2 separate regions of the Homo sapiens genome follow, and region 2 is linked to region 1. The links are contacts of gene promoters, found by promoter capture Hi-C in human tissues and cell types (Jung and others, 2019). All regions are on one chromosome and are shown on one strand. Each heading gives the region's core, a stretch centred on a gene start or on the middle of the fragment in contact. The rest is flanking DNA. Distances are from core to core; before and after follow the strand shown.

Evidence for each region. Contacts are between HindIII fragments. The study calls those that stand out against the background at their distance.
Region 2: the fragment with the promoter of AGFG2 here is called in contact with a fragment that was not itself captured in region 1 in 1 of the 25 tissues and cell types used here (spleen).

What each region holds. Positions count from the first base shown.
Region 1 is chr7:100,838,615-100,843,764 of GRCh38, forward strand. All of the region lies in intron 1 of SLC12A9-AS1 (SLC12A9 antisense RNA 1), which reads right to left. It also overlaps a transcript of SLC12A9 not described here. Among named protein-coding and RNA genes, the nearest start is that of SLC12A9-AS1, 11 kb to the right of the region's middle. The HindIII fragment of the contact is 3,742 bases long and covers 1,188-4,929 here.
Region 2 is chr7:100,537,430-100,542,538 of GRCh38, forward strand. It overlaps AGFG2 (ArfGAP with FG repeats 2), which reads left to right and starts at 1,774. Exons shown (of 12, transcript NM_006076.5): 1 at 1,774-2,138. The coding sequence starts at 1,918. RefSeq lists an enhancer at 1,124-1,625 and silencers at 1,505-1,784, 1,835-2,134, 4,689-4,778. The HindIII fragment of the contact is 17,077 bases long and covers 1-5,109 here.

The DNA of each region.
Region 1 (5,150 bases), core at 1,809-4,308:
CAAGCGATCTGCCCACTTCACCCTCCCCAGTACCTAGGATTACAGGTGTGTAGCACCACGCCGGCTAATTTTTTTGCATTTTTAGTAAAGGAGGAGACTACCTTTCATATTGTCTTATGCCTAATTTCTGCCTCTAAAGAAAGAAAAAGTAAAAACTAAAAGGCAGAAATAAAATCTACAAGCAGACAGCCCGGTGCCATAACTTAGGCCTAGTAGTTGAAGATCGACCTCTGACCTAATCAGCCATGTTATCTGTAAATTACAGACATTGTATAGAAAGGCACTGTGAAAATGCTTATCCTGTTTTGTTCCGATCTAATTACCGGTGCATGCAGCCCCCAGTCACATACCCCTGCTTGCTCAATCAATCACGACCCTCTCACATGCACCCCCTTAGAGTTGTGAGCCCTTAAAAAAAGACAGGAATTGCCGGGCGCGGTGGCTCACACCTGTAATCCCAGCGCTTTGGGAGGCCGAGGCGGGTGGATCACGAGGTCAGGAGATCGAGACCATCCTGGCTAACACGGTGAAACCCTGTCTCTACTAAAAAATACAAAAAAATTAGCTGGGCATGGTGGCGGGCGCCTGTAGTCCCAGCTACTCAGGAGGCTGAGGCAGGAGAATGGCGTGAACCCAGGAGGCAGAGCTGCAGTGAGCCGAGATCACGCCACTGCACTCCAGCCTGGGCGACAGAGTGAGACTCCGTCTCAAAAAAAAAAAAGACAGGAATTGCTCACTCAGGGAGCTCGGCTCTTGAGACAGGAGTCTTGCTGATGCCCCTGGCCGAATAAACCCCTTCCTTCTTTAACTCAGTGTCTGAGGAGTTTTCTGCGCCTCGTCCTGCTACATTTCTTGGTTCCCTGATGGGGAAGCGAGGTGAATGGCGGATGGTCGAGGCAGCTCCTTAGGCGGCTTAAGCCTGCCGTGTGGAACATCCCTGCGGGCGACTCTAACTAGCCCGGGCGACGCGGATCCTGAGAGTGCTCCCTGGTAGGCATTTGCCCCAGGAGGACGCTTCGCCAGAGCAGTGTGTGGCAGGCCCCTGTGGAGGATCAACACAGTGGCTGAACACCAGGAAGGAACGGGCACTTAGAGTCTGGACATCTAAAACTTGGTAAGACTAGTCTTTGAAACTTGCCCACTCCAGGCCAGGTGTGGTGCCTCAGGCCTGTAATCCCAGCACTTTGGGAGGCCAAGGCGGGCGGATGACGAGGTCAGGAGATCGAGACCATCCTGGCTAACACGGTGAAACCCCTTCTCTACTAAAAATACAAAAAAATTAGCTGGGCGTGGTGGTGGGTGCCTGTAGTCCCCACCAGAGCGAGACTCCGTCTCAAAAAAAAAAAAAAAAGAAACTTGCCCACTGCATTTAAGTGGAAGCGTGGCCTGATCACCCATGGTGTGCCTGTACCGGCACTTTAGTTTTTGTTTTTGACTTGACTTAGATTGCTTAATACTCTGGTTTTGGTTTTGACCTAACTTAGATTTCTAGATACTCTGATTTTAGTTTTGATTTTAGTTTGGTGCAAACTGCGAAAGTGTGTGTGTGCCCTTTTTACCTGTTCTTTGTTTTGTGGTGTGCGTGTGGTGTGAGTGTGGTGTTTTGTGTCGAAGAAGCATAGGTCAGGCACAAATAAGCCCACCCTGCTAGGAACTATGTTGAAAAATTTCAAAAAAGAATTTAAAGGAGACTATAGAGTACTATGACACGAGGAAAACTTAAAACTTTGTGTAAGATAGACTGGCCAGCATTAGAGGTAGGTTGGCCATTAGAAAAAAGCCTGGACAGGTCCCTTGTTTCAAAGGTATGGCACAAAGTAACCTGTAAGCCAGGGAACCCAGACCAGTTCCCGTACATAGACACTTGGTTACAGCTAGTTTTAGACCCCCCGCCCCCAACACACAGCGGTTGAGAACAGCAGCATAAGTGGCTGGCAGAGGCAAAGAAAGACCAGCAGAAAGAGAGAAAGGAAAGAGACAGAGAGGAAGAGACAGAGAGGAAAAGACAGACAGAGAGGGAGTCAAGGAGAGAGAGAAAGACAGAGAGAAAGAAATGCAGAGAGAGAGAAGAGACAGAGGCAAAAAGAAAGTCAAAGAGAGACAAAGTCAAAGAAAGAAAGAAAGAGAGATATACAAGCAGTTAAGAAAAAAAAAAGGTGTACCCTATTCCTTTAAAAGCCAAGGTAAATTTAAAACCTATAATTGATAATTGAAGGTATTCTCCGTAACCCTGTAACACTCCAATACCACTTTGTTGTCAGTGTAAACAAAGCCGTATCCGAAAGCACTGAGGCCTTCCTATCAAAAATCCTTAACCCAGTGACCCGCGGATGGCCCAAATGCATTCAGTCTGTAGCGGCAACTGCTTTGCTAACAACAAAAAAAAAGTAAAAAAAAAAAACTTTTAGAGGAAACCTCATTGTGAGCACACCTCACCAGTTCAGAAGTATCCTAAGGAAAAAAGAATTTTTTTTCCTTAGGGGGTGGAATTTATATAAAAAGAGTATTATATAGTAAATTGTTGTCCTGAAATAAATTAACTGGTTTAAAGAAAGAAATATTTGTAATAAGTCAAAAAGTTGAAGAATATCGAAGAATTGTCTGCGAAAACCATGAAAGAAAAAAAGTTATAAAAAAGAATTTATGCAAAAATGTAGTATAATTTAAAAGTAACTAGGCCTCCTGAATGTAAAACTATTTAAAAAAAAAAACAAACCAGTTTATGTGCAAGGTGTATAAGAAAAGTAAAATATACCTTTGGTAAGGAGGCATAAGAATGTACATTTTTACCTATGTTAAAAAGTTAAAACAAATTATTGTTTTAAAAGTTTAAGCAAGTTTTAAAATGTTAATTGTAAAGAAAATTCTGTATGTAAACATATTAGCTAAAGTTAAAGAAGTATCATCCAGTTTTTCTGTGAACTGGACATTAAAGTAAAAGCATAACAGGTTTTTCTTAAAGCACCAACCTGCTCTTTAGCAAAAATTATAAAAAGTTAAAAAGAGTCTATAAAATCTTACCTTATGGTCAAACATTAAAAATTAGATAAATATGTCTATAAAGTTTTATTAAAATTAGGTTTAACATTCATAACACACGAATATAAAGATAAAATTTAGCTTATCTGGTATGAAAATCATACGAGAAGCATTGTTAAATGTAAAAAAAATTTGGCTTTCTTTAGTTTAAAAACTAATAAAAATAGGTGCTAAAGGAAATTTCTCAGTAAAAAGGCACTAAGGACTATAAAGTCCACGGCCAAGGTCCCCACATTTAAAACAAAAAGACATTTTCTTAAAAATCATATACTTGGTTTACCTTCCACTTTCCTTTCTCTCAAAAACTAAAAGTCTTTTAGCACATGTACCACCCCTAGAATTTCCGGTAAACCAGCACCAGCCTGAAGATCATATTCTCATCAAACTGTGGAAGAAAAACTCAAGCCAGCCTGGGAAGGACCCTGCCTTGTGCTGCTAACCACCAAGACTGCTGTTCGTACAGAAAAAAAAAAAAAGAATGGACTCATCACATCCGAGTCAAGAAAGTGCCACCCCCTCCAGAGTTGTAGGCCATAGTCCCAAAGGAAAACCCTATCAAACTAAAGCTAAGAAAAACTTAACTCTTTTCATCTATTCTATTACTCTTTCTTCTTTCCTCATTCTATTGCTGACCATCTAGTTATTAACATAACCAAGTCAATTTCTCCTCAAACTATTGCATTTAATGATTGCTTTGTTATACCCTGTGAGGACTTGCCAAGTCAAAGACAGCTCTCTACTTCAGAAAAGCACTTCTGTCTCTCCTGACTCTCCTCAGACTGGGCATTAGTAAACTAGGACCATTTAATCCAGGGAGATTTCGATAAAGACCCCAGTGCCAACGAAGAGTCTTGCCCCCGACGTAGAGCTTTCATGCCATAGTTGGTCCAATGTTCTGTGGACCATTAAAGAGCAAAGATGGACTGCCCCAACCGGTTTTTATAATTTCCTAAAATCATACATTAATTTTACTAGAGGATCATAGAAGTTAAAGACTTAAAACAAATTTTAGCAATTAAGACAGGATACCAACATGCAAATGCCTAGTTAAAATGGATCAAATATTCCATCTGCACATTAAACAAAAGCAATTGTTATGCTTGTGCACATGGCAGGCCAGAGGCCCAGACTGTCCCCCTTCCACTAAGGTGGTCCTCCAGTCGACCAGGTGTAGGTTGCATGGTAGCTCTTTTCCAGGATTCTACAGCCTGGAGTAATAAGTCATGCCAAGCTCTCTCTGCTGTATCCCTAAGTCTGGCACCCTGCGGGTCAGCCCCTGAGGGCCATCCAGCTTCCGTCTCCCAACACTAAGTTCACTTCGTATCTCTCACTACAGGGAGGAAACTTAGCATTCCTTGGAGACCTGAAGGGATGCGATGAGCTTAAGAATTTTCAAGAGCTTATTAATCAGTCAGCCCTTGTTCATCCCTGAGCGGATGTGTGGTGGTATTTTGGTGGACCTTTACTAGGCACTCTGCCGAATAACTGGAGTGGCACTTGTACTTTAGTCCAATTGGCTATCCCTTTCACCCTGGCATTTCATCAACCAGAGGGAGAAAAAATAAGACATTGTAAAGCGAGAGAAGCCCCTTATGGGTCTTTTGACTCTCATGTCTATTTAGACGCAATTGGAGTCCCATGAGGAATACCAGATCAATTTAAAGCTTGAAATCAAATAGCTGCAGGATTTGAGTCAATATTTTGGTGAGTGACAGTTAATAAAAATGTAGATTAGATAAACTACATCTATTACAACCAACAGCAATGAGCTTTTCATGAGTTAAAAGAAAAACTCATGTCGGCCCCAGCCCTGAGGCTACCTGAACCCTTTACACCCTACGTGTCAGAAAGAGAAAAAAAGGCAGTTAGAGTTTTAACCCAGACTGTAGGGCCCTGGGCAAGGCCAGTGGCCTATCTCTCAAAACAACTAGACAAGGTTTCCAAAGGCTGGCCCCCAGGTTTAAGGGCCCTAGCAGCAATGGCCCTGTTAGCACAAGAAGCAGATAAACTAACCCTTAGGCAAAACCTGAATATAAAGTCCCCCCATGCTGTGGTAACTTGAATGACTACCAAAGGACCTCATTGGTTACAAATGCTAGATTAACCAAGTA
Region 2 (5,109 bases), core at 524-3,023, 300 kb before region 1:
GCTGTACTCCCAGCTACTTGGAAGGCTGAGGTGGAAGGATCACTTGAGTCCAGAAGGTTGAGGCTGCAGTGAGCCATGATTGTGTCACTGCACTCCAGCCTGGGTGATAAAGCGAGACCCTGTCTCAAAAAAAAAGTAATTGTTTTAAAAATGGTGACCAACCCAATCTGAAGTACCCAACAGGTGGCCAGGCATTGTGGCTCATGCTTGTAATCCCAGCACTTTGGGACGCCAAGGCGGGAGGCTCACTTGAGGCCATGAGTTTGAGACCAGCCTGGCCAACATGGTGAAATCCTGTCTCTACTAAAAATACAAAAATTGGCCGGGCGCGGTGGCTCACGCCTGTAATCCCAGCACTTTGGGAGGCCAAGACCGGCGGATCACGAGGTCAGAAGATCGAGACCATCCTTGCTAACACGGTGAAACCCCGTCTCCACTGAAAATACAAAAAAATTAGCCAGGCGTGGTGGCGGGTGCCTGTAGTCCCAGCTACTCGGGAGGCTGAGGCAGGAGAATGGCGTGAACCCAGAAGGCGAAGCTTGCAGTGAGCCGAGATCGTGCCACTGCACTCCAGCCTGGGCGACAGAGCGAGACTCCATCTCAAATAATAATAATCATAATAATAAAAATACAAAAATTATCTGGGGGTGGTGGTGGCCGCCTGTAATCCCAGCTACTCAGGAGACTGAGGCATGAGAATTGCTTAAACCCAGGAGGCAGAGGTTGCAGTGAGCTGACATCGTGCCACTGCACTCCAGTCTGGGCAACAGAGTGAGACTCCATCTCAAAAAATTAAAATTAAATTAAAAAATTAAAAAAGTACCCAAAAAGTCTTTTCCAAGATGTGATTTTAATTCTCTGCGTAGGATTTATTACTAACTGGTGATTCTTTAATTTGTGTATTGTTTGCTTCCCCCTACTAGAAACTAAGCTCTATAAGAATATTTTGTTTGATTGCTTCGCTGCTGTATTCTATTCCCAGTGTCTAGAACGTGCCTGAAACCTAGCAGACACTCAGTGTTTGTTAAATGAATAATCGAATAATAGTCCACCTACTAGGAGGGTTAAAGGCAGGGTTTCTAAAGTTGGAAGACCCAGAGTGGAATCCTGGGCCACGCACTCGTGTGATCTGCCGCAAGTTGTTGAACCTAAGGGTGTAAAATGGGGATTCCACCTCTGGGATAGGCGGAGCGAATGAAATGACATTTATAAAGCACTCCCTTCGCTCTGTGGCTCAGGAATTAGAGCACTGGTCTAGTAAAGCACTCTTGCTCCCTCTCCCTCTCTCCCTTAAGCGCTCTCTTCTTTCCCCCTCCTGCTCAGCCCCTCACATGGCCACTTCTCTTCGGCTTTGCATGACACTCTACACAGTCTAGAGTAAGCCTTTGAAATTTGCCGGGAATTAACGTCATCAGTCGGGAGGACGACAGCTACGCACGCGCGGGGCACCTCCTCTGTCTCGCGCGCTAACTTTGCAGCCCCGCCAGCCAATCAAAATTAGCGTCGGAGCCCGAGTGCCGAGGACTCACCAATCGGAACTAGGAGGCGGGCCACGGTGGAGGCAGCGGCGAGAGGGGGCGGGGACAAGGAGAGGGCACGCACGGTTCTCGCTGCTGGGGTCTCTGCCGGCCAATAGGAGAGGCCTGAGGCCTGAAGGCGGTGGGGCGGGGCATTGGCGGCTCCAGCAACCGGAGGCCGTCCCAGGGAGGGCCAATCGGAGTAAGGAGGTGGGAGAAACCTAGCCAATCAGTGTGCAGGACGGGCAAGGAGGGTGGTGGACGGCGAAGTCTCCTGCGGATGCCGCCCGCTCCCGAGCTTCTGTCAGGGGAGCCGGGCGTGCGGAGGCGGCTGAGGAGGCGGGAAGGCGGCAGTGGTTGAAGGGGTGATTGCTGACTAGCGGGGAGGGAGTGGGCAGCGATGGTGATGGCGGCGAAGAAGGGCCCGGGCCCGGGCGGCGGGGTCAGCGGGGGCAAGGCGGAGGCGGAGGCGGCCTCGGAGGTGTGGTGCCGTCGGGTGCGGGAGCTGGGTGGCTGCAGCCAGGCCGGGAACCGCCACTGCTTCGAGTGCGCCCAGCGCGGGGTCACCTACGTGGATATCACCGTGGGCAGCTTCGTGTGCACCACCTGCTCCGGCCTCCTGTGAGTGACCGGGAGGGAGTGGCCGAGGTCGGCGTGGGGGGACCCGGGGGCGGGGTGGGGAGGCCGGGGCTCCGGGGCGCGAGGGAAGGGGGCCGAGGTGAGGGGCGGAGGGGAGGTCAGGGAACGCGCCGGCTGTGGGGACGGGGTCGTCTGCTGCAGCGGTGTGGTGGGGAGGGGAAAGGGCAGGGGAGAGGAAGCAAGGCCGGAGTCGCTCTGCGGAGAGAAGGGTACGGGTGCAGAAAGACGCCCGGAGAGGGACCGAGAAACTCCCCGAGGGGGTCGAGGCAAACTGCAAGTGGGGAGGGAGAAAGTGCGGAGGATGGAAGGGAACTCGGAGTGGGATGGGGTGTCGGGACTTAAAGGGCCAGAAAATGACATGCACCTTTAGAGGGAACTTCATGCAGGTGGAAAGCAAAAAGGAAAAAGGTGGGGAAAGCCGGCCTGGAGATGGACGGGCACCTTTCTTCCTTCGGGCTTGTGTCCCTGCTGGAGTGTGAGATGCAGAAGCCAGCTGAAACTTGGTTGAAATTCCTATGATTAGAGTACAGGATTAAAAAAAAAAAAAAAAGCGAATTAACCCCGATTGACAGCCTAGAGATAGTGGCTGGAAGGGAGCCATGGTCCAGAGTTCAGGTGTAGATACTAATCTTAGCAGGGCTTTGAAATGTTACCCAGAAGGTAAAACTCTTACGAAATCTAAGAGATGAGAGCCAATGGGTTACCCTGGTAGAGAGCTTAGCTTTTTCAAACGTTTGCACGTCTAGGTGAGCCATCCTGAAGGTTAATCATTTACACCTTTAAGATCCCTGTTGCCATGACTGGATCCTGGTGGTAGCATCCAGGAAACTCTAGATTTTGGGGGGGCTTTGGTGCATCATCTGAGTGCTACTCTTGGCATTGGTACTGTTCGGTCATGCCAGAGTGAATTTACAGCCACAATTCTAGCCTAGATTTCTGGTTATATAGTAAAGCCCCCTCCACTCCCCTCTGCACTCCTCCTACTCCCAAATTAAGATATTATTTGGTTAGATGCATGATTAACATCTGATATCAGGCCTGGATCTCTGTTTTTTAATAAGTTTGTCAAGGGATTTATTTTGACAATTTTTTAGTCTTATTTTAAGACACTGTTGTTTTTGTTTTGTTTTTTAAAAAATGCTTTCCAGCCAGGCGCTGTGGCTCACGCCTGTAATCCTAGCACTTTGGGAGGCCGAGGCAGGCAGATCATGAGGTCAAGAGATCGAGACCATCCTGGCCAACATGGTGAAACCCCATCTCTACTAAAAATACAAAAATTACCTGGGTGTGGTGGCGCGCACCTGTACTCCCAGCTACTTGGGAGGCTGAGGCAGGAGAATCACTTGAACCCGGGAGGTGGAGGTTGCAGTGAGCTGAGATTGCGCCACTGCACTTCAGCCTGGCGACAGAGCAAGACACTGTCTCAAAAAAAAAAAAAAAAAAAAAAGCTTTCCCTGTCTTGATACCTTTAGGAGCCAGGGAGCGAGCACTATTGTTCTTGCAAGACAGATGGGAGAACAGAAGCAAAGAGAGGTTTCGTAACTTATCCAGTGCCATATGGGCATTGCGGTTTCCAACATTTGTTGTTTGATATTAGTGATGATCATGGCAGACCAGCAATGAGGATTTAGTTTTCTCAAGATACCGTTTGGAATTATTTACTTCGTTTTAACCTCCTTTGCTAAACTTCTCTCTGGGTTCTGATCAACCTCACTTGTGGGTTGTAAGGATGAACTTGACTTTGGTCTAAGTAAAAGTCATCGTGGCTCTTGGGATAATGATTGAGAACCCAAACAGTAATGTGTCATAAACTGAGATGGACTGAAATGAAGCAAGAGGATAGAGACTCGAGAGTGGGTGAAGAACTCTGGGGAGAGATTGAGCAACGTTTAGGAGTATGTATAGGGGTCGGGCTCGGTGGCTCAGTATGTATAGGAGGCCAAGGTGAGCAGATCACTTGAGGTCAGGAGTTTCGAGACCAGCCTGGCCAACATGGCGAAATCTCATCTCTTACTAAAAATACAAAAATTAGCCAGGCATGGTGGCAGGTGCCTGTAATCCCAGCTACTTAGGAGGCTGAGGCAAGAGAATTGCTTGAACCCAAGAGGTGGAGGTTGCAATGAGCCGAGATCGCACCACTGCACTCTCCAGTCTGGGTCGCAGAGCGAGACTCTGTCTCACAAAAAAAAAAAAAAAAGGAGTATGTATAGGGTAAAGTAGAAAGAGAAAGAGCTGATTCCTGAAGATCCTGCTATGAGAAGCAGAAGGATGAAACTGATGGATAAAATTGAGTAACTGGGAAGTGCTGACATTGTTATCATTATTTTGTAGATCTTTGTTAAAGTGTCCCACAGATAACATTTCCCTTATAATACCCCTCAATCAGGACACAAAGAAAGCTAAGGTATCTGGGACACGTTAAAAACCTGGTTTCTTTTTTCTTTTTTTGAGATGGAGTCTCACTCTGTTGCTTAGGCTGGAGTGCAATGGCGCGATCTCGGCTCATTGCAACCCCTGCCTCCTGGGTTTAAGCAATTCTCTTGCCTCAGCCTCCTGAGTAGCTGAGACTACAGGCACGCGCTACCACATCTGGCTAATGTTTGTATTTTTAGTAGAGACGGGGTTTTGCCATGTTGGTCAGGCTGGTCTCGAACTCCTGATCTCAAGTGATCCGCCCGCCTCGCCTCCCAAAGTGCTGGGATTACAGGCGTGAGCCACGGCACCCAGCCTGCTTAGCTTTTTGGTAAAGCATTATGAGACTAAACCAGGGAGTGATTCTCACAGAGGAGGATTTAGAGAGCATATTTTGGTGTTTGGGAAATGAGAAGCTAGACCAACCCTTTGTTAGTAGGAAATGAGAGTGAAATGAAAGATCAAGAGGTTAGGCCAGTAAATGAAGCTGAATTGAAGGTATGTTGAGAGTGAGAAATTTCAGGAGAAACTCTGCAAGAAA